2 separate regions of the Homo sapiens genome follow, and region 2 is linked to region 1. The links are contacts of gene promoters, found by promoter capture Hi-C in blood cells and fetal thymus (Javierre and others, 2016). All regions are on one chromosome and are shown on one strand. The core of a region is centred on a gene start or on the middle of the fragment in contact, and the rest is flanking DNA. Distances in the headings are between cores, read along the strand shown. Region 1 holds the start of TCEAL8 (transcription elongation factor A like 8). Region 2 overlaps LL0XNC01-250H12.3 (a long non-coding RNA gene).

What was found. Contacts are between HindIII fragments. The CHiCAGO score rates a contact against its expected background, and 5 or more counts as called.
Region 2: a contact is called between a fragment that was not itself captured here and the fragment with the promoter of TCEAL8 in region 1, in 2 of 17 cell types (megakaryocytes and naive CD4 T cells). The highest score is 7.2, in megakaryocytes.

The regions. Positions count from the first base shown.
Region 1 is chrX:103,252,641-103,256,987 of GRCh38, reverse strand. It overlaps TCEAL8 (transcription elongation factor A like 8), which reads left to right and starts at 1,833. Exons shown (of 3, transcript NM_153333.3): 1 at 1,833-1,910; 2 at 2,311-2,383; 3 at 2,971-3,993. The coding sequence starts at 3,009. The coding sequence ends at 3,362. RefSeq lists an enhancer at 1,847-1,896. The HindIII fragment of the contact is 6,472 bases long and covers 1-3,731 here.
Region 2 is chrX:103,494,637-103,498,983 of GRCh38, reverse strand. The region is part of intron 5 of LL0XNC01-250H12.3 (a long non-coding RNA gene); the gene reads right to left. It also overlaps a transcript of RAB40A not described here. Among named protein-coding and RNA genes, the nearest start is that of RAB40A, 23 kb to the left of the region's middle. The HindIII fragment of the contact is 981 bases long and covers 2,104-3,084 here.

The DNA.
Region 1 (4,347 bases), core at 584-3,083:
CATTTACATAATATTCTGAATAAGACAAAAGTGTAGTAATGGGGAATATATTAGTGGTTGCCAGAGTTTAGGGAAGGCAGTCAAATAGGACTACAAGAGACAGCATGCAGGAGTTTCTGGGGGTGATTGAACTGTATTCTGATTGCAGTGGTGGTTAAACAAATCTATACATTGGTTAAACTTCATAGAAGTGTACACACACACAAAGTCCATTTTGCTGCTGATGATTTTTCTTTTAAAAGATCAGAGTTGTTCCTCACTAAATGGTTACATTTAAAAGAGTGGAAACATTTGGTGATAGGCAATGATTAAATCTTTATAATTTGCTAGTTATATTTATATTAAAAGCTCTCTCTCAAACAATAGAACATTTATCCCTCAAGTGTGGAAGAAATTTGTCATGCTTCAACTATAAATCATTAAGTCCAAAAAATATTTATTTTTTCCAAACCTTCTTTTCTCTTCTCTGGTGGGTGTTCTTGTTGGCTAAGGCATCCTGCTGTGACCACCCTAGACAAAAGACCCCCTCTGTCTTCTTCTGACTCTCCAGCTGGCTCCATTGGCCAGAATGCCACTCCAGGCACCACCATCCTTCCAAGTACCAGTGGATTCTGAGTTGCAGGGATATCAGTTTCCTGTTTAATATTATTTTTTACAGCAATGTTGTTCTCTTTGCTTTCTAATCATAACAATTATGCATGTCAATAGTTCTTTTAATGGGACACAGTGGATGATACCAGACTATCTCAAGAGTGCCATGAATGAAAATGCCATGCAAAGAAGCCTCAAGCCTGATGGTGAGATACAGAGAATTCTCTTTTCTGAGTGTTTCATGAGTGTATGAGTTATTTCCCAACAACGAAATGTTTTCCAAGAAACATACTACTTTGAGTTCCAAAAGAATTTTACTCAGTGGAAAGCAGGCTTTTCTGTGGACTTATCTGATTAACAAGATACTGAATCCTATAGAGGAAATGGGGAGGAAGTCTGTCTGAAGCCTCCAAGTGAAACCTTAGTGGATGCCACCAGTGGTCATCAATGAAAAAGATCAGACATCCAACACTTGATAACTTGAGTTCTGCCAGAAATAGAAAGAGTAGTAGATTACCTATACAAAATTGCTAACAAGAGAAAACTAGGCCTCCTTCCACACATTAATTTGGGAGTCAATTTTTTAAGTGCTGTTTGGTAAGATTTTAAAAAATTCTAACACATCAATATGTTGTGAATATTGTCATTTCATTTCCAGCCATTAGAAAACTTTTCCAAAGTCTTACACATTGATATAACTAATTTGTCCTTCATATTAAGTGTTACATATTGCTTATGAGGCATCCGTTTTCTGATACCATTTTTAAAAGTATGCTGATTGCTGAAAACATAGAACACAACAGAAAACTATTCAAGAGGATTAGTCAAATCCTCCACTTTCAACCTTAGATTCTTTTCCAGCCCCCTCTTCCCGATCTACCACCTTTGCCCATTTCAATGCTGGATAGGATTCCAGGGGAAATGGTGGACTGTAGGGGTCTTGGAGGAGGGGAGGTGGGAGTATTGGGAGCAGAAGAAAGAGATGATTCCTCAAAGAAGGAGAAATGGTCGATTACCCCTAAAAGGCTGATCCTCCTGGTAATCTGAGAAAGGCGAATAAATACTCCAGGGCGAAGATAACAGTTTATTGTCTCCGATTGGCAAATACGAAAAAAGATTGACAGTATCAAGTGGAGGGAACGCAGCGGGCGGGCTGCAGTGTTAATGGGAGGGGTAACTGGGGACTCGAGCTCAGTGATGACGCGACTCTCACGTGACCAGGAGTCGACGTGTGCAGAAGTCCTTATAGTCCAGGGCCTGTTTCCCTGTAGCAGCTCCTTATTGCTGGAGAAGGAGAAAAGTGCCCAAGATCCTTTCAGGTTAGTATAAACGTGGGCGCTGACTTGGAGACCCTGGGGTCGAGGAGGCCGAGAGCAGAAAGCAAGCGGGGCCGGCACTGCTTTCCCCACTTCTGTTCCGCCAAACTCCCATTTTGTGCAGGAAATTTGGGGCTGTTTGGTGGGGGATGGCGGGTGGAGAGAGAGAAGGGTAGCTAATTAAGGGTCCTGAGAGAGAGACATAGAAACTGTTTGGAAGAAACTTGCTTTTCCTACTCCCTGCTTGCAGAAAAACGGTGGGCACGGAGGAGGGCGGGGTTGCCATAAAAGGAGGGCGAGGATGAGGACATGGGAAACTTTACACCAACATGGCCTAGAATCATGAAAGGGACCCGTGATCCAGGTACTAGTCTGCTCACCAAACACTCCCATCTGTCTGCAGGATATTTGGTTTTTTGGGCGCGACACAAATCGAGGTGAGGGAAGAGAGAGGAAAATCCCCTGAATCCCTGCAGGTCAGTTTTTGTAAAGGTGCAATTGCTTCAGGTCTCTTCGGGTGGGGGTGGAAGTGTGAGTGACACCAAAGCACATCCTGGGGTCGCAGCAGCCCCTCCCCATCCGGATTAAGTGCCAGAGGCCGGTGCCGAGCCTGCAGCGGAAATGAGGCGGGGGAGGAGGAGGCTTAAGAGACGCTGAAGGGGGAGGGGAGGCCAGAGACTGGACCAGCCGTCTCAGGTGAGAGGCTGGAGGTTGAGAGGGCCTGGGAAAGTCTGAAGGGCGGGAGTGTTGGAGACCAGAGGCGGGAGAAGGGTTAATTGCTTCCGTACTGCTCCCATTTCAGTATTAGGAGAGGCTTGTAGCAGGGCCTGCTGGGAAGATGGTGGGCAGGAGCAGGAGGAGAAAGATGGAGCTGGAACGAAAGGGGGCGCGAAGGGAGGTGGAGTCAGGGGAGTTCTGAGCCTGAGGATCCAGCTTTCTCTAGTTGGAAAACTTTTGACAATTAGGGTACTGAGTCAAAAAAGGCCAGTCGCTATGGGACCCCATACTCTGACTGCTGGTCTGTTTGCCTGGAATCTAGTAGTTTTGTTTCCTTGTTTTCTAGGATTAATTTATTCAAAAAGGAAATAAAAAATACTCAATATGCAAAAGTCTTGTGAAGAAAATGAGGGAAAACCACAGAACATGCCAAAGGCCGAGGAAGATCGCCCTTTGGAGGATGTACCACAGGAGGCAGAAGGAAATCCTCAACCTTCCGAAGAAGGCGTAAGCCAGGAAGCAGAAGGAAACCCCAGAGGAGGGCCGAATCAGCCTGGCCAGGGATTTAAAGAGGACACACCCGTTAGGCATTTGGACCCTGAAGAAATGATAAGAGGAGTAGATGAGCTTGAAAGGCTTAGGGAAGAGATAAGAAGAGTAAGAAACAAGTTTGTGATGATGCATTGGAAGCAAAGACATTCACGCAGCCGTCCTTATCCTGTGTGCTTTAGGCCTTGAATTCATTTTTGCCTAATATTAAAATCTGGCCCCAGCTTTCTTTCTGTTAGCATTTTCTGATGTATCTTTGACCTCCATTTTACTTTTAATCATCTGATGAAATTTTGTTTTAGGTAATTTCCTTGGTACCAGCATCTCATTGGATTTTGGATTTTGACCCATTTTCCAGGTCTATTTTTCAATTGGAAACTTTCACACATTTGCATGGGAATATGTTCATTCCATGTTGTAAAGTAAAACATAACAGGTTATGGCAAAGCAGCATATTTAATATCAGCTCACATATGTAGGATAAAATTCCAAACTTTGTGTGTGTGCGTGTGTGTATACATACATCCATATAACATATATCACAAACTTAACCAAGCTTATTTCTGTGTGGTGTGAAATTTTATTTGTTTTCTTCTTTTTGTTCTTTTTGCTTATATGTACTTTTTAATGAACACGTGTCTCACACACAAAAAGAATTAAGGATTTTTTTTACAAGTAAGAGTCAAATAATTTGCAACCAGCTTATGAGGGCAATGGGGGCACCTAAACTCTTGATGAAAGAACTTTAAAAAGAAATGTAAACCTCAAATTACCTCTGGATCTCTTAGCCAGAGGAATAAACTGGCAATTATTACAGATACACACGTTTAAGACTCAGTCTTTTCATGGGGAAAATATTTGCTTCACAGGGCTGCAGTGGGGAAGAAATGAGGCAGTAACAGCTGTGCTCAGTGAGATCTTGTTCCCACCTGTGCATACGGAATCCCAACCCACTATAGAAGCACCAATATTTAAGGGAGGGCCTGGCATGATGCAACTTGTACTCAGGATCAAGTCCAGTAGGCAGAGGTGGGGGCTTACCTATCAGTCCTCTGCTATTGAACCCTGTCTCTTCCCCTGGTTCCTGCCATGCCTGCCCAACACTGCTGCCTCTTCTGCTGAGTGCTGTGCTCCCTGCTGGCCCCACTACTGCTGATGCACTGCAGTCCTTGAG
Region 2 (4,347 bases), core at 1,345-3,844, 240 kb before region 1:
TGCTGGCCAGTTTTGGTTAACACCTCTCAGATCAATATAGAGGTTAATGAGATCACATCTGGGAAAGCACTTCTGAGACCTTAGATGGGAAAGAAGGAGAAGTGGTTTCCACGTAGTTACTTTCCAATTTACACTGTTGATTATTATAATAATTGATATTGGATGAACTGAGTAAATATAAGTCCTTGTACTCTTTTGTAATTGAATGACCATTTATTTGTGCATTGTCATAGGGTGATTGTAACAAAGTCCCGCAGAAGGGCAGTATCTCTGGCCTCACGGAGCTGTGGGGACTCACCCTTCCTGAACGCTGGTACTTTTCTATCTCATGAATTTCCCACAACATTCCTGGGAGGTAGAGGATATAATCTCTACACCATCCTGTAGCTTAAGAAACAGGGATGTTTGCAGGTTAAGCAACCTGGCTGGGGAGCATCCTGCCACTAAGTGGAAAAGCAGAGACTAGCATCCTATATGCCCCCAGGCAGACTGTGATGCTGAGCTGCACATCACAACATAACCAAGCAAATCTTGCTTTCCTGCTGACCTGGGTCACTACTGAAATCTGTATCTTCAGCTCTGAAGCCAGGCTGCCAGTTCTGTCTCTCTTATGAAAGACAGAGAACCTTGTCAGACCTAAATTTCCTACTCTGTAGACAAGGGAGTGTGTCTGGGCCATTGCTTTAGAAACGAGTCCGCAGACAGTTCCTGTATCAGGAAGAATATGCACTCTCAGAGGGACAGGGGCCATGCTGAGGGTGAATACTTGAAGGAGCAGGCCCCAAACACATGCAGATCGGGGATGCATAGAGTCTTTAATAGAAATTACCAAATCAACCTTGAAAGAGGTTGTACTAAATGACATCCCCACCACCAATATGAAACAGGGTAGGCTTCCCCGCATGCCCACCTTACTGGAATCCTGAATGGTTTCTTTTTATACTTTGATGATATGACAGGTGGAAATTCTTTCATTGTCATTATATTTAATTTGATGTTCAGATAACTTAAAAAATTCCCTAGTATACAAAATGCTCTGATAATCATCATTGCATTATATTTTTATTGCAAACTGGTCCATTTTCATATGTAGCCTAAAAACAATGAGCAACAGGCACATTAGCCTGCAAGTTCTCCTAGAGCTACTGGTGGCATTATGGTTCCAGGGTGTGTTTGTGGCCTCTGGGGAATACTGATGGCAGTGTGTTTGTCTAGAAGATTAAGAACATCTCTCTGTGATATTAGTTGAATTCAATATTAGAGAAGAGCTGGAGTCTTTTTAAGTGACACAAGAGCTGGACCACAACATGCTTCTGAGCAGGCTGTAATCCTGTCCCTGTGATGGACAGCAAGCCTTTCTGTGACCTCACCTGCTCAGGTCAGGGTGGATCCCTCCAGAACGTAAGGTATGGCAATTGGCCTAAATCTGCTTCTGAACACTGAAGCTGAGTGCTCCCATCTTCCTGCCGTCAGTTGCAGAGACTGGAGAAGCTGCATCTTCTCAGACACCAAAACCACGGGTTCAGTCACCTGTGTGAGGAGCTCAGTGCTGGAAGATAAAATACCAGCACCTGTTTGACACATCGTGCATCCATCCATCCATCTGTCCATCCATCCATCCATCCATCCATCCATCTATCCATCCCCATAGTTAACAGGCATTAAAGTCAAATGACACCATCCCTCTGGTTAAGTTTTAGACTTCCCCAGAATAGAAACAAGGAAGTAAGGGGGTTGTGGTAAACTCAGTTTCTAGACCTAAGAAGAGATGGCTCCTTCTCCTTAATATTTCCACCCTGAGAGAGCCTCTTATCATTGATAATTTTAAAACATAATTTAAAACCCTAGACCTCTCTCTACAACCCTAGTTACTGTTCTCTTTACATATATTCTCCCATTGCAACCAAAGTTCTATGAAGAATTCTCAATACTCAACTCACATCCCTTTGCACCTCCCTCCACCTCAGTCCTCATTCCTCATCTAATGGTGCTTTGTTCCCGCACCCCTCTGTTGAAATGAACCCCATCAAAACCAACAGCCACCCCTTTGTCCCATTTATAGATCAAGAGTGTTAAAATGAACATCTATATGGAGACAAAGCTTCCCCCGCAATGACAAAATTCAGTTGCTTTTGTATAGACAAAGATTATATTGCAATGCTATATTTACCTAAAAGCTAGCATTGTAAAATAGCTTCCATAAGAGTCAGTCAGATAACGTGAAGGCTGTGCTACAGGAACTGTGCTATCAGTTGAAGTACAACATTTCCCCAACATATCCCATACTATTGCTTCAATAAAAGGAATTTTGCAAATAGATTTACTGCATGTTAGCAATATTTTTATGATCACTTCAATAAATTCTGTTTATTGTTTTATTTCTTTCTGAAGGAATTACTAAGTATGCAATGTAATCGCCTGAAATTAAAATGTTGTTTCAAAATTTGTCGTGGTTAAATATATTGCCTAAAAGCATTGTCTGATTGTTTAATATGCCATAATTTGGTAATATAATGGTGGTGAAATATAATAGTAGATAGAGGGAACTCTTGCAGTCTCCTGATTAGGTCAGAATTCTTCTACTGCACCACACAAATCATAATTCTGGAATTCCTTTTGGAATGTTTCCATTTGGTAAACTATCACAACTATATGATAAGTGTACATGATTCCATACTGATATAAATTAAGTGTTTCCATTGACAAAGAAATGGGTCAGAGAAGACAAATTGTCTCAATCAAATAATTCTAAACAATATATGTGGCTAACCCTCAGTTCATGAGGTGAAGTTTAATTCTGTCCTCTACCTCCTAAGAACAGGGCTGACTTAGTGACTTACTTCTACAGAAAAGAGTATAGGAATGTAAAATAGTTACCACACACTGGAGAAATTTGGCAAACAGTACCTTAACCAAGTGATGAAGGTTAACATCACCATTGATATCATATGGGTAGCATGTAAACCCATATATGGTGTGATAAAAAGGGCAATTCATCTCTGCGGTATTCCTTCTGAAAACCCATAACCTCAGTCTAATAATGAGAAAAACAAGTTATGCCTGTACTTCTCATGAAATCAAGCTTATGAAAATAGTCTGGCCATACCTCAAATGGTTAACAGGGAGTTACCATATGACACAGCAATTCCACCCCTAGGTACATAGCCAAAAGAAATATGCCTACATAAAAACTTGTACCTGAATGTATACAGGATCATCATTCAAAATAGCCAAAGAGTGGAAACAACCCAAATGCTCATCAATTGATACATGGATAAAATGTGGTATATTCAGCAATAAATATGGATGAGGAACTGATATATGCTGCAACACAGATTTTGAAAACATTATGTAAAGTGAAAGAAGCCAGATGCAAAAGACCAAATATTGTTTGATTTCACTTATATAAAATGTCAAAAACAAGCAAATCCACAGAGAAACAAAGCATATCTGTGATTGCCTAGGGCTGGGGGTGGGCACAGGGATTAACTGCATTCAAGCAGGATGGGTAATCTTAGGGTGATGAAAATGTCTAAAACTCAACGATGAAGTCCCAGCTACAGCAATCAGACAAGAGAAAGAAATAAAGGGCATCCAAACTGGAAAAGAAGAAGTCAAATTATCCTTGTTTGCAGATGACATGATCTTATATTTGGAAAAACCTAGACTCCATCAAAAAACGATTAGAACTCATAAACAAATTCAGTATAGTTGCAAGATACAAAATCAACATACAAAAATCAGTAGTGTTTCTATATGCCAGCCAAGAGTGAACAATCTAAAAAATAAATTTAAAAGTAATCCCATTTACAATAGCCATAAATAAAATTAAATACACAGGAATTAACCAAAGAAGTGAAAGGCCTCTATAATGAAAGCTATAAAACACTGATGACAGAAATTGAAGATGACGCCAAAAAATGGAAAAGTATTTCATGTTCATTGATTGGAAGAATCAATATTGTTAAAATGTCCATTCTACTCAAAGCAATCTACAGATTTAATACAATCCCTATCAAAATACCAATGACATTCTCCACAGAAACAGAACAATCCTAAAATTCATATAGAATCACAAAAGACCCAGAATTCCCAAAGCTATCTTGAGCAAAAAGAACAAAACTGGAGGAATCACAATACCTCACTTCAAATTATACTACAGAGCTATATCACCAAAACAGCATGGTACTGGCATAAAAACAGACACATAGACCAGTGGAACAGAATAAAGAACCCAGAAACAAATCCACACACCTACAGTGAACCCATTTTCAACAAAGAACCTATACTGAGGAAAAGACAGTCTCTTCAATAAGTGGTGCTGGGAAATCTGGAAATCCATACGCA